Regions from separate parts of the Homo sapiens genome. Here all the other regions are linked to region 5. Evidence: promoter capture Hi-C in 16 types of primary human blood cells and fetal thymus (Javierre and others, 2016). All regions are on one chromosome and are shown on one strand. The core of a region is centred on a gene start or on the middle of the fragment in contact, and the rest is flanking DNA. Distances in the headings are between cores, read along the strand shown.

The links. The method cuts DNA at HindIII sites, captures the fragments that hold promoters and counts their contacts. A CHiCAGO score of 5 or more calls a contact.
Region 1: a fragment that was not itself captured here is called in contact with the fragment with the promoter of RERE-AS1 in region 5 in 6 of 17 cell types (total CD4 T cells, M0 macrophages, M1 macrophages and 3 more); the score reaches 8.0 in total CD4 T cells.
Region 2: a fragment that was not itself captured here is called in contact with the fragment with the promoter of RERE-AS1 in region 5 in 1 of 17 cell types (total B cells); the score reaches 5.4 in total B cells.
Region 3: a contact is called between a fragment that was not itself captured here and the fragment with the promoter of RERE-AS1 in region 5, in 2 of 17 cell types (naive B cells and erythroblasts). The highest score is 6.0, in naive B cells.
Region 4: a contact is called between a fragment that was not itself captured here and the fragment with the promoter of RERE-AS1 in region 5, in 1 of 17 cell types (naive CD4 T cells). The highest score is 5.5, in naive CD4 T cells.
Region 6: a fragment that was not itself captured here is called in contact with the fragment with the promoter of RERE-AS1 in region 5 in 3 of 17 cell types (megakaryocytes, erythroblasts and naive B cells); the score reaches 8.2 in megakaryocytes.
Region 7: a fragment that was not itself captured here is called in contact with the fragment with the promoter of RERE-AS1 in region 5 in 8 of 17 cell types (total CD8 T cells, activated CD4 T cells, non-activated CD4 T cells and 5 more); the score reaches 6.4 in total CD8 T cells.

The regions. Positions count from the first base shown.
Region 1 is chr1:8,001,840-8,005,142 of GRCh38, reverse strand. LOC124903834 (a long non-coding RNA gene) reads right to left here. Exons shown (of 2, transcript XR_007065451.1): 2 at 1-1,155. Among named protein-coding and RNA genes, the nearest start is that of ERRFI1, 23 kb to the left of the region's middle. RefSeq lists a silencer at 80-374. The HindIII fragment of the contact is 5,450 bases long and covers 1-3,303 here.
Region 2 is chr1:8,829,858-8,833,412 of GRCh38, reverse strand. It overlaps the pseudogene RPL23AP19. Among named protein-coding and RNA genes, the nearest start is that of RERE, 14 kb to the right of the region's middle. The HindIII fragment of the contact is 1,679 bases long and covers 1,172-2,850 here.
Region 3 is chr1:8,860,384-8,864,214 of GRCh38, reverse strand. It overlaps ENO1 (enolase 1), which reads left to right. Exons shown (of 12, transcript NM_001428.5): 9 at 123-324; 10 at 872-980; 11 at 1,270-1,328; 12 at 2,786-3,215. The coding sequence ends at 2,855. Among named protein-coding and RNA genes, the nearest start is that of MIR6728, 4.3 kb to the left of the region's middle. RefSeq lists an enhancer at 1,391-1,685. The HindIII fragment of the contact is 2,516 bases long and covers 1,233-3,748 here.
Region 4 is chr1:7,974,754-7,978,230 of GRCh38, reverse strand. PARK7 (Parkinsonism associated deglycase) reads right to left here. Exons shown (of 7, transcript NM_007262.5): 6 at 493-579. Among named protein-coding and RNA genes, the nearest start is that of PARK7, 15 kb to the right of the region's middle. The HindIII fragment of the contact is 323 bases long and covers 1,877-2,199 here.
Region 5 is chr1:8,422,595-8,425,915 of GRCh38, reverse strand. It overlaps RERE-AS1 (RERE antisense RNA 1), which reads right to left and starts at 1,271. Exons shown (of 4, transcript NR_125999.1): 1 at 1,215-1,271. It overlaps RERE (arginine-glutamic acid dipeptide repeats), which reads left to right. Exons shown (of 23, transcript NM_001042681.2): 12 at 3,109-3,189. RefSeq lists silencers at 1,682-1,821, 2,132-2,471. The HindIII fragment of the contact is 3,073 bases long and covers 1-1,634 here.
Region 6 is chr1:8,789,371-8,792,672 of GRCh38, reverse strand. The region is part of intron 1 of RERE (arginine-glutamic acid dipeptide repeats); the gene reads left to right. Among named protein-coding and RNA genes, the nearest start is that of RERE, 27 kb to the left of the region's middle. The HindIII fragment of the contact is 2,548 bases long and covers 748-3,295 here.
Region 7 is chr1:8,018,176-8,021,876 of GRCh38, reverse strand. All of the region lies in intron 1 of ERRFI1 (ERBB receptor feedback inhibitor 1), which reads left to right. Among named protein-coding and RNA genes, the nearest start is that of ERRFI1, 6.3 kb to the left of the region's middle. The HindIII fragment of the contact is 1,222 bases long and covers 840-2,061 here.

The DNA of each region.
Region 1 (3,303 bases), core at 150-2,649, 420 kb after region 5:
GGTGCAACATGCAGGAAGCTGTGTTTTGTGTTTTGAATTCCTGGCTGTCCTGATGTTCTTGGATGAACCGGTGTCCTTGTACACAGTGTCTCTACTTAGTGATTGATAAAAGTTCTTGGCTGGGCAGAAGCCAGTTGACAGTTCCTGCAGTTGGGTGAGTCACGGGAGCCTCCGCTCATCCGCTCCGGGCTGCAGAGGCAACTCCAGGCACCCACAGCGGCTCAGACGCGTGATAAGACTTGTCTGCACACCACATCATCCCAGCCCAGGAGCCTCTAATTACACGTCTGGTGTTTGCAGGAGCCCAGGTGGCCTGTGCTTCCATGGGCTGAGAACTGTGAAGATAGCACGGGCTGGGTTCTCACTGCCAGCGCAGAGGCCAGGGTGGGGGAGGCACCTCAAAGTCCTAATGCGTCACCTCAATACCAATGATAATACCCGCATTCTAAAGAAAACAACAGTCCATTTAATCATGCGCTTCTTGTTTTCTAAAGCACTGCTACAATTTTATCTTCCCATAGACATTTCGAGCCCTTGTTTGTTTGTTTGTTTTTACATCTCACCTTTCCATTCACCCTTCTTAGTACAGGCAGAAAACTACCTGGCACTGTGGGAGACTGAGTATAGGAGAAAGCAGGATGACGATGGGCCTGAATGGTGGTGTGTTTTCCTCCACACAATGTGGCTTTGTCCTCCAAGGTGTCTCACGTGATGGAAGCTGGCTGATCTGACTTGCTTGCAGATGTCTGTAACAGCATTAGCAGCTTCCAATTGTCAGGAGCTCGCTGCTTGCCAGGCACGCTGTCGGGCACACTGAAATGTTGTGGGATGGCGCTGGGATCAGCCCTAGAACCATGAGACCTACTTTCACAGAAAGGACACTCATTCAGAGCAGGGCAAGGAAGTCACTGTCACCGAGACCAACACTGCTCCTGGCCCATGCCAGTCAGTGGCTGATGGACGAAGCTGCACTGTGGGACAGTGAAATGCGACGTTTGTTGATCCTGTCAGGAACATCGTCTGTGCGGGAGGCTTCTGAGGACAGCAGCCAGAAATCTGTTTTGTTTTTGTTTTCACAGTTACATATTTTTTTTTCTTCCATGCTTAGCTGATGCTGAATCAATTCGACTGTTCCTTTTGTAAGAGTCCACAAACCTTAACAATAATAGACAGTCATTTGTCATCTGGCAAGATGAGATTGAGAAGATTCTCAGTGAGAAACTGAATTTACCCAACTGAAATGTTCACTTAAAGTTTTTTTCCTCTAAAACCTGGACTACTCATCTGTGGATGACTTCTACTCATGTAATTTTTTTTCTCAAATTGGATACTTAAATGATTCTATGTATTTAGTAATCGCAAAAAGTCAGTTTTATGGATACAGTTTTCTCTGAACAGTTTTGGTATAGACAAAAAGAGGTGTTACCATCCACCCGGCGTGCATTATAATTCTGTCCTTGCCTAATCCCCACCCAAATGCCCATTTCCATCTACACGAACTCATTCTTTCTGAATCATAAATGCCACACCCTCAGTTGCACATAAAACTTTGCCATATTATGTATACATCAGTGTGTACGAAGACAAGTTGTGGCTTAGAAGCAGTCCATTTACAGTTTCTGGAACTGTTTATCATCTCACTTCTCCATAACTGATTCTAGGTCTGAAAGGTTTCCTTCTAAAATTTGATAGCCTGATTTTGAGGATATGTTTTCAATGCCTTTTCTGGTTACAAATCCTGATGTTGGCAGGTCTTTTTCCTGTAAGCATGAAGACCAACCAAGACAAGGTACACTGTGCTGTTAATCAAAGTGGCACAGAACAACTATGTGACAGGTCATAGCCAGGAGTGTAATGTAACATGGATATGGAGGGCCACAAAGAGTCCCATAGCCCTCCTGCTACACATCTGAAAATCTCCTGAAATTCAGAATAAACCCATTACTGAAAAACAAAAGTGTTTATTGGCATACCAGACTGTTTCAGGAATTCATGAAAGATAGAAAACAGATGGGTCTTGTGTGATGGAGAAATAAGACCAAAGAAAAGACCAAAGGCTAAAAGATCTACAGGAGGGGCCGGGTGCAGTGGCTCACGCCTGTAATCCCAGCACTTTGAAGGCCGAGGCGAGTGGATCACTTGAGGCCAGGAGTTTGAGACCAGCCTAGCCAACATGGTGAAACCCCATCTCTATTAAAAATACAAAAATTAGCCAGACATGGTGGCTCACACCTGTAGTTCCAGCTACTCGGGAGGCTGAGGCAGGAAAATTGCTGAACCCAGGAGGCGGAGGTTTCAGTGAGCCGAAATCTTGCCACTGCACTCCAGCCTGGGGGACAGAGTGAGACTCCGTCTCAAAAAACAAACAAACAAAAAAATCTATAGGAGATGACTTCTGTGAAGGTGGCTGTGAGTTCTGAGAAAGCTCTGCCCTTTATGGAAATAGGGAACAGGAAGGAGCCCTGGGGCAGGAGTCAGGGTGATTATCTGGGGGCTTTTGGAGGATCAGCCAGCTGCCTTCGCCCCCTTCCCCACCTCTCTCATGCTAAACTGTGTCACAGTGAGTATGTGCACACAGGCCAGAGCACTGGTGACAAGAGGCACAGCAAGACCCTGGGTAGCAAGAAATCTGCACTATTTCTAGGTGGGCTAGAAAGGCCCTCCTGACTGAGAGGACTCAGCCTTCCTCACACTGCCCTGTGTTTCCTCTGCTGTGGTTATCAGAGGCAAACTCATGTCATCAGAACCTGGTTCAACAGACAGGAGAATAGGAATTTTGAAATATGAGCCCAAAATTTAAATTGCGAAGCATTTGAGGAAAATTAATATCAAGAAAAGTACAAAACTCAATAAACATGCAACTCCCCATGCAAACATTTCACAAAGCAAACATGTTAAAACAATCCTTGGAGATTAGACAGAACATTATATTCGTGAAATAAGAACAGGCTGTTAGGCTGGGCACGGTGGCCCCTACCTGTAATCCCTGCATTTTGGGAAGCCAAGGCGGGCAGATCACAAGGGCAGGAGTTCGAGACCAGCCTGGCCAACATAGTGAAACCCCGTCTCTACTAAAAATACAAAAATTAGCCAGGCATGGTGGCGTGCACCTGTAGTCCCAGCTACTCAGGAGGCTGAGGCAGGAGAATCGCTTGAACCCGGAGGGTGGAGGTTGTGGTGAGCCGAGATTGCGCCACTGTACTCCAGCCCAGGCAACAGAGACTCCATCTAAAAATAAATAAAAAATAAGAACAGGGCCCACTGCAGTAGCTCATGCCTGTAATCCGAGCACTTTGGGAGCCC
Region 2 (3,555 bases), core at 762-3,261, 410 kb before region 5:
GCCACACCTGGCTAATTTTTTGTATTTTAGTAGAGACAGGGTTTCACTGTGTTGCCCAGGCTGGTCTCGATGTCCTGAGCTTAGGCAACCTGCCTGCCTCAGCCTCCCAAAGCGCTAGGATTACAGCCATGAGCCACTACGCCCAGCGTTATTTTATTTTATTTTATTTTATTTTGAGACAGCATCTCACTCCGTCACCCGGGCTGATGTACAATGGCACAATCTCATCTCACTGCAGCCTTGACCTCCCTAGCTCAGGTGATCCTCCCACCTCAGCCTCCTGGGTAGCTGGGATTACAGGTGTGCACCACCACATGTCGCCAATTTTTTGTATTTTTTTGTTTTTTGTAGAGATGAGTTTTTGCCATGTTGCCCAGGCTGGTCTTAGACTGCTGGGCTCAAGCAGTCTGCCTGCCTCGACCTTCCAAAGTGCTAGGATTACAGGCATTAAGCCACTGTGCCCAGGAAAACAAAAACAAAAACAAAAAACTTTAGGCCAGGTGCAGTGGCTCACACCTGTAATCCCAGTACTTTGGGAGGCCTAGGCGGGCAGATCACCAGAGGTCAGGAGTTCGAGATCGGCCTGGCCAACATGGTGAAACCCTGTTTCTACTAAAAATACAAAAATAAGCCGGGTGTGGTGGTGCACGTCTATAGTCCCAGTTACTTGGGAGGCTGAGGCAAGAGAATCACTTGAACTGGGAGGTGGAGGTTGCAGTGAGTCGAGATCGCGCCATTGCACTCCAGCCTGGGCGACAGAGTGAGACTCCACTTCAAAAAACAAAAACAAAAACAAACAAAAACAAAAAAATACTTTAAACATTTTTTGAAAAGCAGGTCTGCCGGCAAAAATGTCCTTAATTTTTTTGTTTGTTTGTTTTTAGGCAAGAGTCTTGGTCTGTCACCCAGGGTGGAGTGCAGTGGCACAATCATGGCTTACTGCAGCCCTAATCTCCCTGGCTTGGGTGATCCTCTCACCTTGACCTCCAGAGTAGGCATGTGCCACCATGATTGGCTAAGTTTTGTAATTTTTTGTAGAGGCTGGGGTCTCACTATGTTGTCCAGGGTGGTCTTGAACTCCTGGGCTCAAGGGGCCCTCCCTGCCTCAGCTTCCCAAAATGCTGGGATTACGGATGTGAATTTTCTCAATTTTTGTTTGTCTGATAAAGCTTTCTTCTTTTGTTTTCTTTCTTTCTTTCTTTCTTTTTTCTGAGACAGAGACTTGCTCTGTCTTCCCGGCTGGAGTGCAGTGACTGGATCTCAGCTCACTGCAGCCTCCACTTCCCGGCTCAAGGGATCCTCCTGCCTCTGCCTCCCAAAGTGCTGCTGGGGGATTACAGACGTGAGCCACTGCACCTGGCCCTATCTAAACAAATCTAAACATTAAAAGGGTACAGTAAAAATATGGTATCTTCTGGGACAATCATCATATATGTGGTCTGTTGTTGACCAAAACGTCTTATGCAGTGTATGACTGTAGTTTCCTTTCAGGGCAGGCCTTATTAAGAACAGTGTTCTGGGCCGAGCACGGTGGCTCATGCCTGTAATCCCAGCACTTTGGGAGGCCAAGGCGGGCGGATCACTTGAGGTCAGGAGTTCAAGACCAGCCTGACCAACATAGAGGAACCCCATCTCTACTAAAAATACAAAATTAGCCAGGCGTGGAAGTTCATGCCTGTAATCCCAGCTACTTGGGAGGCTGAGGCAGGGGAATCACTTGAACCCAGGATGCGAAGTTTGCGGTGAGCCAAGATCACTCAATTGCACTCCAGCCTGGGCAAGGAGAGCAAAACTCTGTCTCAAAAGAAAAAAAAAATCCCCTGAAAAAATCAGAGTGTTCTGGGTGTATTCCAAAACGGCTGCTTTTCCTCTCCCCCTGCTGGAAGCATGAGGGGATTTTTTTCAGATCATTGTGAGAACCCAGTTGGGCTTCTGGAGGTAAAACTCAACAAAATTGCAAGAGCCCCTCTGGCAAAGAGGAGGCAGGAACAGTGATCAATTGTATCAGATAAGAATTAGCCAGCTGGACTCAGTTTAGATGATCCCAATTTTGTCGGCAACATTCAAAGCATCATAATCAGGAGCCAGTCGAACATATGCCTTTATGCCTTCTTCTCTCCATCAGGCCGAATCAGGGTGTTGGCCTTGGCCACATCCACGTCATAGAGGTTCTTCACAGCCTGTTTGACTTGGTGTTGTTGGCTTTAACATCCACAATCAACACAAGTGTGTTGTTGTCTTCCATCTTCATAGCAGACTCGGTGGTCAGTGGGAACTTGATGATGGCATAGTGGTCAAGCCTGGGAGAGAGGCAAAATGGGGTCACCTGGGCTGGGCTCGGTAGAAAGATGGGCTCTCTTTTGGAGTCCAGCTGGCTCTCCTTTTTTTTTTTTTTTTTTTTGAGACAGAGTCTCCGTTGCCCAGGCTGGGTGCAATGGCGCAATCTTGGCTCACTGCCACCTCTACCTCCCGGGTTCAGTCGATTCGATTCTCGTACCTCAGCCTCCTGAGTAGCTGGGATTACAGGCATGCGCCACCATGCCCAGCTAATTTTTGTGTTTTTAGTAGAGACGGGGTTTTTGCCATGTTGACCAGGCTGGTCAACTCCTGACCTCAAGTGATCCTCCTGCCTCGGCCTCCCAAAATGCTGGGATTATAGGTGTGAGCCACTGGCTCTTCCTTTTGATAGGAAAAGTTTTGGAGGAGAGGTTGAGTTAGAGTGAGATTGGGGTGGATTTTACAGAGAATAGGAAACAAGGAATTGGATACAGCAAATGTAGATCATTCTTTCAAAGGTGTTTTGCTGGAAAAGGGAGCAAAGAAATGGGGCAGTAGATAATGTCTAAAGCTTAGTTAAGAGAAGCCTTATTATAGGGGAATAAAAAAAACTTATGTATATTCTTTTTGTTTGTTTTTTTTTTCGAGATGGAGTTTCACTGTTGTTGCCCAGGCTGAAGTGCAATGGCACGATCTTGACTCATTGCAACCTCCGCCTCCCGGGTTCAAGCGATTCTCTTGCCTCAGCCTCCCAAGCAGCTGGGATTGCAGGCATGTGCCACCATGACCGGCTAATTTTTGTATTTTTAGTAGAGATGGGATTTCACCATGTTGGTCAGGCTGGTCTCGAACTCCTGACCTCAGGTGATCCGCCCACCTCAGCCTCCCAAACTGTTGGGATTACAGGTGTGAGCCACTGTGCCTGGCCTATCTTATGTATATTCTAATGGGAATGATCCAGCAGAGAGCAAAAAAAATAAAAAATAAAAAATAAAACCCTGATGTAGCAGAGAGAGGGGATAATTTCTGAGTGATATCCATGAGTAATCAGAGGGGACTGGATCAAGTGCACAGGCAGAGGGCTGGGCTCTAATAGCAGAGATGCTTTGTCTATAATAGTAGGCAGGAGCCCAGAGCGTGGGGATTTAGAGAATGATAGATAGGTGTGGGGAGGGGGGAGATCACACAGCTTCTCTGCTGATTGTGTCAACATTCACAGTGAACCGAAAGAAAGCCATTAACTGGAAGTGAGGGGAAGGGAGGAGGTGTTGGAGGTTT
Region 3 (3,831 bases), core at 1,241-3,740, 440 kb before region 5:
CCTATGCTTTTGGGCATTGTGAGGCCAGGCGAGCAGCAAGTCAAGGGGGAAGCAAGGCTGGGCATTGCGGTGGAGCACACTGGGAGGATCACACTGATGAAGCGTGTCCCTCCTTTCCTTAGTGGTGTCTATCGAAGATCCCTTTGACCAGGATGACTGGGGAGCTTGGCAGAAGTTCACAGCCAGTGCAGGAATCCAGGTAGTGGGGGATGATCTCACAGTGACCAACCCAAAGAGGATCGCCAAGGCCGTGAACGAGAAGTCCTGCAACTGCCTCCTGCTCAAAGTCAACCAGATTGGCTCCGTGACCGAGTCTCTTCAGGCGTAAGTGTCTTCCCAGGCGAGCAGCTTTCCCGCAGCTACGGCTTGTGAATCAGAAAAGGGCCCTTTTGTTCTGGTGATGGGGAATCCTGCTGGCCAGAATGTAGGACTCGCTGGAATTTTAACAGGTTTTGTGTTTGAACTCAGGAGCCTTTTAAATTAAACAATTGGGGCCTGTAATCCCAACATTTTGGGAGGCCAAGGCAGGAGGATCACTTGAGCTCGGGAGCTCAAGACCAGCCTGGGCAACATAGCAAGTAGTTGTATTCTGTGAAGAGCTCTGTCAGAGAACACTAATCTTTCTCCCATCAAGGGAGGCTGAACCCAGTGTTTCAACTATGACAGGAGGGCTAAGAAGGTCCTGGGGGTGGAAGAGTTCAGGGGAGGGTGAGGGTTCTCCTCTGTGCTCTTGACAAAGCCCAGGCATGGAGGGCTTTAGCCATTAACAGCCCCTCCACTGCTTTCCTGCTGGCACCGAGGGGTAATGGCATTGGGGGTTATGGAACCAGAAAATGGGATCATGCCATCTGGGTTGTTCCTTGGCTTCCAGGTGCAAGCTGGCCCAGGCCAATGGTTGGGGCGTCATGGTGTCTCATCGTTCGGGGGAGACTGAAGATACCTTCATCGCTGACCTGGTTGTGGGGCTGTGCACTGGGCAGGTAAGAATGAGCGTCTCCTCCTTTCTTCTCTGACCTCAACTTCCTAGGAAGACCCAAAACCAGTGAGGCTCCATGTCTGTCCCCGTTTTGCTCATGTCCCCTGAGTCAGTGCTCTTGTTTCTGAGGCTGAACAGAATGGGGGCATGAGCGCCCTGCCTGTATGTTGTGGCCCCCACTTTCCTAGCATCAGATCCTCTAGAAATTCTCTCTCTGACACCACACCCTCTCCCTGCCAGAAATGCCTGCAAAGCTTGTCCGCTGTAAGCAAATGGCCTTTCTTTTCTCCTAGATCAAGACTGGTGCCCCTTGCCGATCTGAGCGCTTGGCCAAGTACAACCAGCTCCTCAGGTAAGGAGGGCTCCTGAGAACAAGGGGCCTGTGGTTCACTAGGTGGGGGCCTGCACTCAGTGTAGGCACTGCCCTCCCCCAGGAGCTCCTGGCTCTGGGAACATGTACAGGTGCAGGTGCACAGTGCAGACAGCCAGGCCCTGAGCAGGCTTAGGTCAGGACAGAGTTAGGCCTAGACTCCCCCTACCCACCCACTGCAGCGCCACCAGAGGCAGGAGCCTGTTCCACACAGTGCTGCCCTCTTCTGGTGAGAAAGAATGGGACCCCCTTTGACAGCTGATGCATGACTTTCTTAGAGCTTTCAGAGAGCTCCTTCATATGATCTGTTTCAGCGCATTTAACCCCTGTTTGTGGATGTGGAGCCAGGGCTGGGAGGGAGGAAGAAAAGGCCGAAGGGCACATGGCTGGGTTTCCACTTGTGAGCGCTGTGGGGCTGTTCTGGTCTCCCTTTCCTGTCTGTGTCCTTGGGAAGCCCCTGAACACCAGGAGACTTGTCCCCCCGCCCGCCACCCCGCTAAGTTCTCCCATATTACCCCTTCATTCAAACTGTATCCTGGAAATTTTCAAACATATACAAAAAAGCAGGTGAACAGTAGACGCAGGGCTTTTTTGTTGTTTTGTTTGTTTGAGACAGGGTCTTGCCATGTCACTCAGGCTGGAGTGCAGTGGGGCAGTCATAGCTCACTGCAGCCTCAAACTCCCATTCTTTTTTTGCTGGGGAATTTTATTTTTATTTTTTTGAGAGGGATCTCACTCTGTCGCCCAGGCTGGAGTGCAGTGGCTCAGTCTTGGCTCACTGCAACCTCTGCCTCCCAGATTCAAGCAATTCTCCTGTCTGAGCCTCCCGAGTAGCTGGGATTACAGGTGCCCACCACCATGCCTGGCTAATTGTTTTGTATTTTTAATAGAGACGGGGTTTCACCATATTGGTCAAGCTGACCTCGGGTGATCCTCCCACTGTGCCTGGCCCCAAAATGTGTTGGCCTTTTTTTTTTTTTTTTTTTTTAACATCAAGATCCAAACAGCTCACACATTTTGTCTTTTAATAAGGTCACTCTCCTTTTCTCCCCATGCCATTTATTTGTTGTCCCTTCAATATTTTTTAAAAAACAAAAGCATTAGAATTTTTATATTCCAAGAAATGGCAATGCTGACATTTTACTTTGCTCCTCTGCAACACTGACGGGGAGAGGAGAGGAAGAGAAGGGGCGGTGGGTGGAGGGCACCTAGCATGGTGAGTTGGGATGAGGAGAACTAAATACTTTTCTATATCTGGCTTCTCAGAGAAGCACAAGTTTAGAGGGTTTAAAGAAGGTGGACAAACTGGAGAGTTCTGTGTTCTCAACTTCCCAGGAGTGGGGCTGTGTCTTTGACCACATCTAGGATGGGAAAACTTAAAACTTGAGGTCTGACTTTTCTTTTTTCCTCCCCATCTCTTTACCTTTCTCCTTCCCAAGAATTGAAGAGGAGCTGGGCAGCAAGGCTAAGTTTGCCGGCAGGAACTTCAGAAACCCCTTGGCCAAGTAAGCTGTGGGCAGGCAAGCCCTTCGGTCACCTGTTGGCTACACAGACCCCTCCCCTCGTGTCAGCTCAGGCAGCTCGAGGCCCCCGACCAACACTTGCAGGGGTCCCTGCTAGTTAGCGCCCCACCGCCGTGGAGTTCGTACCGCTTCCTTAGAACTTCTACAGAAGCCAAGCTCCCTGGAGCCCTGTTGGCAGCTCTAGCTTTGCAGTCGTGTAATTGGCCCAAGTCATTGTTTTTCTCGCCTCACTTTCCACCAAGTGTCTAGAGTCATGTGAGCCTCGTGTCATCTCCGGGGTGGCCACAGGCTAGATCCCCGGTGGTTTTGTGCTCAAAATAAAAAGCCTCAGTGACCCATGAGAATACTCCGTGTGCCTGTGTATGTCTGGAACAATCTGGGTCTGTCCTTAGTGTTCAGGGGCCCCTGGCGAAAGGGTGTCGGCCTTTGAGAACCAAGGTTTGGTGTCGTAACAGAAAAGGATGAGGATCCATTGGGGTCATTTTCCTGGGTCCTTGGGAAGGGAACCAGAGGCAAAGGCAAGAGAAGAGACATACACGGTCCCTCCAGGATAGTGGGGTCAAAACAGAGTCTAAGCTGGAAGGCAGAGCGAGACTTTGTTTGGACACCTTGTTTGGAAGAAACTTCAAATGCAGGCCTATTTGTAGATAATCTTAAGGATGGTAGCTACTAGGTTACACAGCCATATTCAGACCAGAAGGACTTCAGGGTAAAGGTGACCATCCTGGGAAGAGATGTTCTCTTCCCAGGGTCTCTTCCTGGGGAAAGCAGGTGAAAGAAGGATTAAATGGGAGCTCTGGGCAGGAAGGCAGAAGGGCATCAAGAAGACCTCAGGACCCGATTTAAATGAATGAATTCCACTCCTCGGTTTCTCAAGCTTCAGGTTTCATGTGTCCGGTAGCTGCCATTTGTAGCTGCTGCCCACTGCATTGGATTAAGCAGATGGAAAACTTGAATGTTGC
Region 4 (3,477 bases), core at 789-3,288, 450 kb after region 5:
AGGTCAGAAGTTCAAGACCAGCATGACCAACATGGAGAAACCCCATCTCTACTAAAAAATACAAAAATTAGCCAGGCGTGGTGGAGCACACCTGTGATCCCAGCTACTCAGGAGGCTGAGGCAGAAGAATCACTTGAACCCGGGAGGCGGAAGTTGCAGTGAGCAGAGAACGCACCATGGCACTCCAGCCTGGGCAACAGAGCGAGACTCTGTCTCAAAAAAAAAAAAAAAAAAAAAAAAAAAAAGAGTTTGAGACCAGCCTGACCAACATGGTGAAACTCCATCTCTACTAAAAATACAAAAATTAGCTGGGTGTGATGGCATGCGCCTGTAATCCCAGCTACTCAGGAGGCTGAGAGAGAAGAATCGCTTGAACCCGGGAGGCAGGGATTGCAGTAAGCCAAGATCACGCCACTGCACTCCAGCCTGGGCGATGGAGCGAGACTCCATCTCAAAAAACAAACAAACAAACAAAAACAAGCATATACTTACCTCCATTCATCATTTTGTCTTTAGCAAGAGGGTGTGTTGTAACTTTACTTCCAAAACCTATTTCATGAGCCAACAGAGCAGTAGGACCTAAGAATAAAAATAAAAAGATCTAAGTGCAGATATAGAAAAGCCCATGTTTAAAAAATCGCAATAGTGCCTGGCACAGTGGCTCATGCCTGTAATCCCAGCAATTGGGGAGGCCTAGGTAGAAAAATTGCTTGAGCCCAGGAATTCAACATCAGCCTGGGCAACACAGACCCCTTCTCTAACAACAACAAAAACTGCAACAGCAAAGTATTCTTCAAAATCAAGAGGCTCTTACCAAACATACAGCTACGATTCTGAAATGAAACACTTCCTAGTATGAGAGATAAAGTATGTTTATAACAAACGATTTGCTGAGCACATCTGGCAAAAGCACAGAAACTCAAAATACTTCAATAACCATTTACTCAAGAAGATTTACCTTGATACCAGCAGAGCATACACAGATAAACAAAATGTGCTCACCTCTCTCACCTTCCCCATCCCCAGAACAGGGACCACATATACCAGGAGTCCAAAGGAGGGGGAGGATCACTGGGGCGGGCTCAACTTCTTACCTCACTCTTAGTAAAAGGAAAGATTTAGTTACATGCTAAAGGCAACTGGTACTCTCTGAACTTCTGGATTTTATTGCTCTTTTGTAATCTTATTTTCTACTTGAAAATGGGAAATTAGGCCGGGCACGGTGGCTCATGCCTGTATTCCCAGCACTTTGGGAGGCCAAGGCGGCTGGATCATGAGGTCAGGAGATCAAGACCATCCTGGCTAACACGCTGGAACCCTGTCTCTACTAAAAATACAAAAAATTAGCTGTGCGTGGTGGCGGGCGCCTGTAGTCCCAGCTACTCGGGAGGCTGAGGCAGGAGAATGGGGTGAACCCGGGAGGCAGAGCTTTCAGTGAGCCAAGATCGTGCCACTGCACTCCAGCCTGGGCGACAGAGCGAGACTCTGTCTCAAAATAAATAAAAAATAAATAAATAAAATGGGAAATTAACACTCGTTCATCCACCTATCCACCCAAGTATGCCAGGTGGTAGGATTAAAATGGACAGCACACTGTCCTTGAAGGAGATAGCCTGTGAAGTGCCTGGAAGTGTGAGATATAAAGGCACTAGCATCACGTGATGAAAGCTACTTAAGCAAAGAACCACATGGAAGTGTCAGTTGATGAAGTCTTTCCAAATTGGCAGGTCCTAACTTGAGATTTTTATTTAAATGTATTCACTGAAAACGGCCAACTTCAGGGAGGGTCACAAGCATATTGCGTATGTAATGGTCCTAAATAAGGATTAAAAACAAAGATTTTATATACCTTTCATTGTTATTTCATCTTAAAGCTTTTTACAAAGTATTCATTCTACCTTTTTCCTCTAAGCCACACATATAAACATTCTTTCTAAGGCCTCACATGACACTTAGAAGGATACGTTTCAGAACAGCACCTTGATCTTGGAAACACTTAAGGTGCCCTGGATGGCTAAGATCCTGTGGCACAGTTTGTACACTTTTAGTGTCAGCAAACCTGAGAGGTCTTGGTCTTACTGTCCTTTCATTTTTCAACAAGACTCCAAGGAAGGAATTATATAATATACCCACAAGCTACTCAGACCGTAGCTGTTACAAACAGGAAGATCACACAAATACTACCTAATTACATAAGCTTTCTGCCTAATATCAGCTGTCAGTTTCAGACCAAGTCCTGATTTATAGCTCTTAAATCAAAAGCCTCAAATGTCTCTTCTCCACGTTATTTTTACACACAAGACAGCTATGTATGGTAGCAAATTTTAGAAGTCCGTAAGAATTGAATAATTATCAATTTTTATTTGAATGGATTTATAAATTGTTTTTAATTTTTATTTGGTAAGAATTTAAGAAGAAATTCCTACATCATCTTGCATTTTAAAGTAAACTTTAATAGATGATAGCACAGTGAGGAAAGTGATCGGTGAACGAGAATTTTTAGGCTGCTCCCTTCAAGGTGGTAATAAAATCACTGCTACGATGTGAATAAATTTATGTTACAGTTGGATTCAGGAATTTACTGATGTCTTTCATACTTATCAGGTAAGCTCATAATCACTGCTTTCTGGGGCGTCAGAACCCTATTTGGAATACTGGAGAAGAGACGTTTCACTCTCCCAGGACCTGGGATTCTGATGGATGAAAACGCTCTGTACTCTGCACTACAGTGCAGAGGGCGCAGCTGACCATGTCCCCTTCTGCAGCCAACAGCACCACCCTGTGGTAACATGCAAAATGACCACCTCTGCCAACTCCCCAGCTCCTCCAGGTGGCCAAGACCTTGCTTCCAGAGGCCTCATTCCTAGACCTGGGCATCTCAGCTGACAACTGTCCACTCCTCCAACTCCACACTTCCTCCCCCTCCCCTACTCAAAGTAAATATCATTTAATTTTCTTCTCAACATAGACTCCCTTCCAATTTGCGTTCCTCATTCACTCAATATTAAGGACTAGGCTAATATTCTTTGTGTTCAAAATGTTTCCAATCCCTAACTGCAACACTTCAGAATAATCTTGGCTGGGTGCGGTGGCTCACGCCTGTAATCCTAGCACTTTGGGAGGCCAAGGTGGGCGGATCACGAGATCAGGAGTTCGAGACCAGCCTGGCTAACATGGTGAAACCCCGTCTCTACCAAAAATACAAAAATTAGCTGGGCATGGTGGCAGGTGCCTGTAATTCTAGCTACTCGGGAGCCTGAGGCAGGAGAATCGCTTGAACCTGGGAGGTGGAGGTTGCAGTGAGCCGAAATTGCACCACTGCACTCCAGCTTGGGCAACAAGAGCAAAGCTCCCATTTCAACAAAAAAAAAAAAAAAAAAGAATCTTATTTTTCTGTTTGCCAATTTAAAAGATCCAAATCTCTTCCATCACTCCTCTGTTCCATTCCCATAACCCTCATCTCAATTAGCTCAGCTC
Region 5 (3,321 bases), core at 22-2,521:
TCTTCTTAGGTTGTAAAGATTTCGAATTAATATATATGAGGCTCCTGGCATATAGTAGGTACTTAGTAACTATTGGTTGAATGGATGATGTTCAAAGGATTGCATCACAATAAATGGAAGAAACAGGATCTGAATTTGTTTGTCCAACTCTGCCACCTTACCCTGATGTTCCAGAGTCAGCCTTTCTCACATGCTGCCTTTATTGTGTAGGCCTCTTTTACTGGACCTGTTAGATGTCACTTGGTATCAAGCCCACGTTCCGATTGCATGGTCCTGGCGTTCCACAGCCTGGCTCACTCCAGATTGCCCGCCCCAAGTCTGTGTAGACTGTCCCCTGTAACCCACCTCCCATTCTCCACCTCTGACCTTCACGGAGGGCCCGGTCACCAAGCCACCTCCCACCCCTGCAATAGTTGCCCACCCCTTGTGATCTCGCTGATGTCACTGCCTTGGCGAAGGCATTCTGAACTACTACAGACCACTGCAGTCTAGCCTTCTTGGGTCCCTTGCTGCACTGATGAGCTGCACCTCACTTCTTTATGCTTGGCCAGATGACATCTCAGAATGTTCTGTAATGACTTCACACATACTTATCTTACGTGCAAAAATGAATCACAGTTCAGTAAAGGTCCATGGCAACCTTTATTATCTTCCTAGACCCCTCTCAGCTAGGTGCTCAGTAAATACCTGAATACTTGAAGAATGGATTAAGCGGCAGGAATTCTGATTACTGAGGTGGAGTGTGCCAGTAGTTGAGGTCCTCATCTCATACCTGAACTGTGTCAGCAGCCTCTTTAACTGGTCTGTCCCTAATCTACACTTAGGCCACACTGCCACTGGCACAGTCCTCATCCAGTCTTTTCATGGAAAGCTCCAGCTTCAGCCTTTCTGCCAGCCTACAATTAGGAACTCTTCCGTGCGGCCTGAAGGGCTCTCTGCAACCGGATCCTTGCCTGCCTCTTTCGTCTTATCTGCTGGCACTCCATTCTGCACACCCTGTCCTCCTTGCAGTTCCCAGAATGTTCCCTGTGCCTTTTCCTGGCTGACTTCTGCTGGAAGCCCTGCTGGAGCCCACCTGGCAGGCTCACACTCTTCCTTGTCACTTCCTCTAAGACATCAGCAAGCAGAGTAAGTTGCTTCCTCTTCCTAGCTTCACCCACCACCCTTTGTTCCTCTGCTGCTTTTCTTGCAGGCCCTAGGACTGGTTTGTTTACCTGTCTGCCTTCCTGGGCAGACTGCAGCTCCTTGAGGGCAGGGCCATCTTTCCGTGCCGTCTCTCCCGGTGATATGCTGTGTGCACACAGCGTAGGATGCCTGTTGATCATATAAACGATACTTTTGTCAAGTAACAAAGGTCACTCCTCACACTAGAGGAGAGCTTGCTGCTTTCTTGTGCCTTGAGAGATTTTCCCTTCGAACTGTATGAATTATATTGAAAATTGACAATGATGAGTCATATCTCAGCAAGGGTGAAATTCAAAAACGCAAAGCCTCCACTACTGGAGTAGGAGGTTGCAGACTGGTCTTAAAAGGCTAAGTCTGGCCCTTCACTGAATCCGCCTGGCGGGTCTCAAACACAGGGAGTGGGAGGGACCCTCTGCCCGGTGGGCAGGTGATTTATTGGCTGGGAAGCTTCCGCGGTGATTTAGTTGTGAAGCGGCGGCCGGGGAAGTGCAGGCTAATGCCTGGGCCGCCAGGGAGAGGCCGCCCACAATCGCGGGCCGGAAGGGACCGCGGGGGGCGTCGGGGCCAGCCCCCCGTTTCGCAGCTGAGGCGGGGTTGGGGCGGAGGGCGTGCGGCCGGGGCGCAGCCGACTTCGTCCATCCGGAACGTGGGCTGGAGACCCAGCAGCCTGGGAAGGGCCCCAGCCCTGTGGGCGCCCTCTCCCCACGCTTGCTGCGGTAGGGAGGAAGTTTCTGTGCTTTACCGCCTTGATGTTCTCCTGTCCGGAAGGAGGACACAGATTCCAGCGCCGGGTGCCCTGGAGGCTCCGGCCTCGGGGTGGGGGTCGGGCCGGGGGCGGGGCCGGGGCCGGGGCGCGGGGCCCCGGCTGGCGGACAGGAGGGCGGCGGCAATCCAGGCCGCCTTTTGCAGCCGCCCGCGGCCGCGCCGGGCTCTGCGCGCCGCGCTCCTGCCTCCTCCCCCGTCAGCGGCGGCCCCAGCCCCGCGCCCCCCGGGCCCCGCGCCGCGCGGCCCCGCCGCGGTCACACGCCGAGCCACCCGCGGCCGCCTCCGCCCTGCGCTTTGTGGAGCCGGAGCCCAGTGACAGGCGACGGCCTCTTGCCGCCCCGGACCCCGGGCGCTTACCTGTGGCTGCTGGGGTCGGCCGCCCGGGACCAGGCTGGGAGCCCCGAGGTGGGGGCTCGGAGCCAGGAGCTGCCCCCACCGGGGCGGGGAGGGGTGCTCGGGAGGCATGGGACAAAGTGAAAGTCTCCGGGCTGGGGTTAGGGACGAGTCTGCTGCGAAAATGGATGGGGGCGGCGAGTGGCGTCGGGAGGGCGGAAGGGGTGCTGGTTATTCTCTGGTGTCTCGGAGTGGCTTTTAATGACGGACGGTGGGGCAGGCCCGCTGGCTTTCGTGTTCCCGGTGGGCTTCTGTGATACTGGTGCCTTCCGGTGCCTCCTGGCAAATTCTTTGGATTAAGGAAAGCGGCCTTTTAACCCCCTAGGGTTCCCTTCTGGAGAAGAGTCACCGGGTTTGGTTCTGTTTCCCCTTTCTGCTCGACACTTCTGGGAAGCTTGGTTCTCAGGTGGGAAAGCAGTTGTGTTTTATTAAAACATGGAGCATATTTATACCTTCGTGCACCAGAATGTGTGCCTGGTGGAAGAGGGGGACAGATTGCTTCTTAGCCTCAGACGCAGGACGTCCTTCTCTTAAACGCGCTGCCCTGCGTGGTGGGTGGGATTGGGGTTCTGATGAAGGTAGCTGGGGCCTGCCCTGGCCAGTGGGTCCCAGCTGAGCTGCTGACATACTCTCCGAGCCTCGGCAGTATTCCCTAGCCGAGACTTTTTTTGTGGTTGTTATTCTGCTGATTGTAGATATCTTTGCTTTGCTGACATCCTGTTTTGTTTTTGGTTTTTACATCCCATTTGTTTCTTTTTATCACAGAAACGCTTCGTTAAGGGACTCAGGCAGTACGGGAAGAACTTCTTCAGAATTAGAAAGGAGCTGCTTCCCAATAAGGAAACAGTGAGTACAATTGGACTTTATGTAACTTGATTTTTTCCTCTTTGCTCCTGCTGCCTCTCCACATTTGATCTTATGAAATGGTTTCCTTTAACCCTGCGCTGTGCTCAGACTCGGGCTGGCCTCCAGAATTCT
Region 6 (3,302 bases), core at 772-3,271, 370 kb before region 5:
AAATGCTAATGAAACTAGTTGGCAGAGCTGCATTTTTGAAGTTGTTTCATTTAGTCACAGTGATAGTCATCTGTCTTCTTTTAGGAGGTGATTGTCTAGGAGTAACTGTATGTGCGCTCAGCACCGGGTCACAACCACCGTGGGATCCACTTACAGAGAAGATTTGTGGAGAGCTTCAGCCTGTTTATGGTGTTACTGAGAAAGGAATTGTGGCCATTTGATATAATTCTGGATGGAAGACCTCTTATTTGTATTACATTGAATTAGAGGTCAGTATTTGAAATTTTCTCCTTGAGTGGCTATTATAAGAGGATCCCGTAAGAATTGATTACTGTGAAATTAGCCAACTACATAGTGTATTTCAAAGATAAGGTAAACTGTTGGACTTGTGATTACCTGGTTTCTGGTATGAATTACTGAACTTATGTTTGTTTTTATGTGCATAGATAAAGCTATATGCTTGATACTCTTTCAATTATAAACTTAATGGGTTATAAGAATTTATAACTTGGGCTTCATTAAGTGAAGAAGGCGCTCTTATACTTTGTCTTTTTGTTTTGTTTTCTTTTTTTTTTTCCTTCTTTTGAGACAGGGTCTTGCTTTGTTGCCCAGGCTGGAGTGGTGCAATTATAGTTCACTGCAGCCTTGACCTCCTGGGCTCAAGCGATCCTCCCACCTTGGCCTTCCAAAGTATTAGGATTACAGGTGTGAACTATCATGCCCGGCCTAATTTATCTTTGTTAAGCTTCACCTGTTCTGTTGATGATAAATTCTGGGAGATGATGGTGTCCTTTGTCTTTAAATGGTTTCTGACAAGTTTTCTTTTCTTAGTATTTTCTACTTTTGTTTGACTCTTAAAGAGTTATAGGTTTGAAACTAATGTCTACTGCCTCTCCCTCTTCTCGTATGATTCCTGTGGGTGTCCAGGAGCTATGTGTTTAGTTTGAAAAGAAGAGATTTCAGAATAATCATGCTTCCCGTATACTTACACTGATCATGAAAAGTAAAATTTATTCTGAAAAGATAGACCAGTTGCTTAGTAAGTGAAATGTAACTTGTTGTAGAAATGATCTGTAATTTCAGGCCATATTTTCTAGGAAGGTGCTGTCATCTAAGTCTCCCTTCCCCTGGGCATTTGGCTGTTAATAAGGGATTATCTGAGTGATATTTTGGGCTTGCCCATTCATTTGGCAGAATTTTATTTTTTTAGTGTCTCTTGCAAGATATAATGCTAGGCATTGGGGATATAAAGATGAGTAAGATGTGTCCCTACCCTCCTGGAGGTCATGATGAAAAGTGGGGAACAGATATGAAAAAAACCCCACTAAAATACAGACTGAAAGAACTGTAGTAATAGTAGAAACATGATGCTCCAACAATGTAGAGAGTCATTAAGTGTGCATATACTATCTTGGGCATTTGCATAGCACTTAGGGAGTTAACAAGTTGGTGTTTATCTTGGCAGACCACCTTCAGGCAGCTACCTTTATTGTGGGTGTGTGACCTCATGTAACTTGAGTGGGATTTTCCATGTCATTAGTAGTTCCTAGGGAGTAGAGAGTAAATCTCTTTTTGGAAGAGGTTGTATTCTCCTGAATCCAAAATACCTTTCTGTATGTTTTGTTGTCTTTTAAGAATATTTCTCAGACGTTATATAAGTAATTTCATTTTTTCTGAGTCCCTTCTTTGGAAAAGGAGTTCTTGCCAAATGAAAGGGACACAGTGTTTGGTTTTTCAGTTCATTATGAAACCCCTACCACCCTGTCTCCCTAAAGAAGTAAAGCCTGGGCCGGGTGCGGTGGCTCATGCCTGTAATCCCAGCATTTTGGGAGGCTGAGGTGGGTGGATCACTTGAGGTCAGTAATTTGAGACCAGCCTGGCCAACATGGCCAAAACCCATCTCTACTAAAAATACAAAAAAATTATTTGGGCATGGTGGCGCATGCCTATAATCCCAGCTACTCGGGAGGCCGAGGTACGAGAATTGCTTGAACCTGGGAGGTGGAGATTGCAGTGATCTGAGATCGTGCTACTACACTGCAGCCTGGATAACAAGAGCAAGACTCTGTAAGTAAAGCCTGACCTTTTTTCTTCCTAGAAAATGGCTTAGTTTATTTCTATATGAAGGATTTGAAAAACTGTAAAAATAATTCATTAGCATCTTATAAATTGATACAGGGATTACCTTGGAGCTTTATTAAACTCTAGGCTGTTGGTTATACCTATTACCTTCATATTTCTCTTAGTGGTATTAAATCTATTCATTTATCAAATAGATTAGATTTATTATTTATTTGTATTATTAGCTACATAGTATAGAAGGTACTGGGGAGACTTGTAATATGGTGGGGTTTGCCCACATTAGGAACACATGTTTTTCCTCATGTTTAATTTTTTTTGGGGGGGTGTCCTTTAACTATCTCGCGTTTCAGTACATATGCCATTTCCTGTCCCAAAGGAGCACATAAGTCTAGTCCTAATCTTGGTGCTTGAACCCGCAGTTCCAGAGAAAAGCAACTGGCACTGAATGCTCTCTGGCTCATCTTTCCATCCAGGATCTGTCAGCTAGCCAACAGGTGTGGGAGGTGTGTTTTCCAAGTTTAATGTTGCTGTTAGTGGGATACAAAAGAAATAAAAGTTACTATCTTTGGCCTCAGAATTTAGGAGGGAAGCCTTGCAAGAATACAACATTTAGAGATTTCTAGAACAAAAGCGGAATTTAACCAAGTACTTACTGTTTAGCATAACAAATTTAGTTCAGTTTCAGGTTAGAGATTGGTGTGGATTAAATAAGTTGACCAAAGATCCATTGAAAAGCTGAGTGGGCCATCGAAGAATGGGTGCTGTTTGAATAGCAGACTGGGAGAGCAGGTTAGGACAGTCCAGGCAGGGGTCGGCCTGAGGCAGGAATGCATATGGTATGCGCAGCGTTCAGTAAAGAGAACCTGGTTGAAGTACAGAATTTGTGGGGAGGAATAGTGCCAGATAAGTTAGGTAGACCAAAGAAGACAGGCTTGGAATGCTAGGCACGGAGTGTCTGTTGGCACCTGAAGGGAATTGGGGCGAGGTAATAAGGTAGCACGTCAGCCAGAGACTGGAGAGTACATCTCTGTCTGAGTAATTTTGGCCCCAAATTTGTAATGTGGGGATGGGAAGTGTATTGGTCAGTCCTGATAAAGAGTTATGTGTGCATCTGTGTGACGTGTTAAAATTGCTTCCTGCCACTGCTCGTGTTTGGTCAGATAGTAGGTTAGGCTGAAGGAAAGAGAGGTAGTAGCCACAGGACAGATAAGCTTTGAGAA
Region 7 (3,701 bases), core at 201-2,700, 400 kb after region 5:
CCTGGACACTGAGGCCGGGCTGTCTAGTTGAAGTCCTGGCCCCATTGCTCACCAGTTTTGACCTTGAGCAAGTTCTTTAACTCTGTGCCTCAAGTAAGTGAGAGTAATAATAGTAGCCCACCTTATGGCATTGTAGAGAGGATTAAATGAGTTCATACACATAAAGCACTTAGAACCATGCTTGCCTGGCAGTTGTATGTCCAGTGAATGTTAGTTATCATTAATGGTTTTATATTAATTGTAACAATCTAGAGTTACCCATCGGGTAACTTAAATGCTTGTTAAATAAATTTGAAGTTTTAAAGACTTGCGTCCCATCATTAGACCATTGTGCTCGTTGTCTTTAGATTAGAATTCACTTTTATAGTAAGAAATAATCTATTGTTATATGTCAAAAAGAAATAATATTTTTCTCCCCTCTGTGTGTATATATAGTTACTGATTGTGCTACTCTGTAGGAGAAATACAAAGGACAAAAGAATGTATTCCTGCTATCCTACTTTTCTGCTGTCACACTAAAATTGTGTGGGAGGCTTAAGTGAGTTGAAAGACTGGATTATGGTAGTTGAGGGAATGGGTTTTTTGTTAGTTTACCATTTTTTAAAATACTTAGCTAGAAAGCATTCTGAATTATTGAATAAATTACGTCATTTATTTTTTATTTGACAGTTTGAAGATAAATTATTTTCTCTGTTGCCTCTATTTCACCACCTACAAATGGTCCATTATGTTCTGGACATGTTTAAGAGCCTCTGAGGAATGGAGCTGCAAACACAGACACAAATGTTCATCTTTGCCACACTGAACTATATTTTAATGTTTACTGAAGCCATCAAGCTTTTCTTGAATTCATGCAGGAGTATTTTAATTACATTAAAACATGGCATTATTTTAAAAGTAATCTATGTTTTTAATTTAAAGGCTACTTATGCTTACCATGGTAGAGAGTACAACTAAGGAAGTTTTCTTAACTTGCCTCCCTCTTTCTTTTCCTACCCCTACCTAAATCATAGGCTATTAAAATGAAATCTGGGCCGGGCGTGGTATCTCACGCCTGTAATCTCAGCACTTTGGGAGGCCGAGGCAGGAGGATCACCTGAGGTCAGGAGTTTGAGACCAGCCTGACCAATGTGGAGAAACCCCATCTCTACTAAAAATACAAAAATTAGCCTGGCGAGTTGGTGCATGCCTGTAATCCCAGCTACTCGGGAGGCTGAGGCAGGACAATCGCTTGAACCTGGGAGGTGGAGATTGTGCTGTGCACCATTGCACTCCAGCCTGGGTGACAAGAGTAAGACTCCGTCTCAAAAAAAAAAAAAAAAAATTGGTGTTTTTTTGTTTGTTTGTTTGTTTTAATTTCCTCACAGGTGATTATTTTAGACATTTTAAAAAATAAACATGCAGAGATTGGTATATTTGGGGAGGATCTAAAATCATGGAGTTTGTCATATTCCTAAATCAGTTTCCTTTTATAAATTTTGCCTTTAAATGTAGTTACCTTATTATCTTCCTTGGTTATGGAAGTACTTAATGTAGGTGATTCTTAAATGGAACTGAAAAGACCATTTATCACCCTGAATAAACAGAAATCAGGTTCTAGAACCAGATTGAAAGGAGGAAATTACATCACACTCTTAAATAAGGAAGCACTGGGCAGAACTGGATGAGTTGTATGACAAAAATGTGCCCCTCCTCCTCCCATGGATGGCTTCTGAGATTTATTAATGAGATCTGGTGGCCAGGTAAGCATATCTAGGTTACTGCCTTAAGGTAGCCTGCATTTTTCTTTTTTTTTTTTTTTTAAGCAGTTTCAAAGAGACTGTCCTCAAGCTAAAGGCATATGATTTCACCTTAATGAAGAAGGTGCAGTGTGCTTTTGGTGTAACTTTTTTAGAAAAATGAAAGTCACCTTAAATTCAGCAGCAAAAACACAGTCTAGAAGGAATAGTGTTTTAAGAGAAGGCAAAACACTGTTTTAAGAAAGTACCCCCCCAATTGCTTCAAGTAAATATACTGTAACAGAAACCAGTTTAGAAAGCTACACTGTTAACCACTGAAGCTTATAATTTTTACTCAGTCTACAAACTGTCTTCTTTGAATTCTGGAAATGAATTTCATAAAAATTCCTTCCTGTTACATATCCTAAGGTTGTTACATTATTATTGGGCAGTCGCCTCACTCCAGCACGCATTAACTTTATCCTTTATAAATCTGCTTCTCCCCTGAGCTCTTCACTGACTCACAGTGTATGTGAATCTTTCATGTCATTACTTTTTAAAAATGAGATGGATATTTTCTCAGTATCCATTTAATAAATAATAGACATGAATGATGCCAAGATCTACAGGGGGAAAGCATAAATCAGACATCAGTTCTGTCCTAGATGATTTGAAGAGTGGAAGGGGAATTGGGGCCCAGCACAAAATAACACAAGAACAGAGCACCGCTGCTCCAGTGTTTCATGAAAGGGAGCGGCTTCATGGAGAAGGCAGGGTAGAGCTGACCTTAAAGGATGAATCGAATTGTAACAGAGATTTGGGGAAAATAGAAGCGCGCTTGAAAATATAGATTAGGTTTATATTGTGGAGGCCCTAAATTGCCAGGCTGAGGAGGTTTTATTTAGGAGCCTTTGAAGGTTTTTTGAGCAGCAGCAAATCTTAGCTTGAGCTGTTGTTAAGGAATATTGACTTGGTACTAGTGTTGTAGAATAGGTTGCATATTGCCAGACCCCAGGAAGAATGATGCCTGTCAATGGAAGGGTAAGATTTGAGAAACCATGTAAAAGTAGTCTGTGGAACTTGGCAATTGAATGTACATGGCCTCAGGTTAAAAATGGTGCCTTGAGAAGTGTGATCCTCTTAGACCCTGAACTGGTTTGGGGAGTGGGGAATGGAGTATGAAGTGAAAGGAGGAGTTTGGTTTGTAGAGTTTGAGATGCCAGAGGGCCATCCAAGTGGAAAGATAATCACCAGACAATAGGAAATGCAAAGTTGAAGCTTGAGCCAGGCTGGAGTCATTGATTCAGGAGCTGTCTATGAGTTGAAGCTATACAAGTGGATTAATAAAAGGATAACCTCAAGAAGCAAATGATTTTAGGGCTTCTTTTTTCGTTGAATTTAGAAAAGAATCAAGTTAACAGGAAAAGGTGGTTCACATCTGAAATTTGGTATTTAACTGCATTTTAGACCCACTAAAAAAGCTAAAAATAGTTGATGAAGTTTGGAGAAGTTATGCTGAAGGTTATTTGGGTCCCCGTCTAAACCATGCTGTCTGGATTCACATTCGCTTTCCTATTCTTGGATTCCATAACATAATCCCATCTTGTACTTTTTAGATACTGATTTCCCCACATAGGTACATTTTTGCAATTGTTTTCCTCTAATGAGTTGTAAGACAGATAAAATGTGAAAAATTGGCATTAAACATCACTTGGGAAGAGTTTGTTTCTTTTTAGCTTGAGGTTGGTAAAATGGATTTATTTACTCCGCGCCCCCCCCCCCCCCGCCCCCCGCTTCCATTTGTGCTGAATACTAGAAGGTTTTTAGAGAGAGAGAAAGTTTCAGGTGGTTTCATACCCTCAGTTTACAATCTGAGAAACATTTTTTTTAAAAGCTTCCTTCCAAACCTATAGCACATTGCCCTTTTTGAGTCTACAGTTTGAAGTTATTTTCCAAAAGAAGAGAACATGGCAGTTATATTGC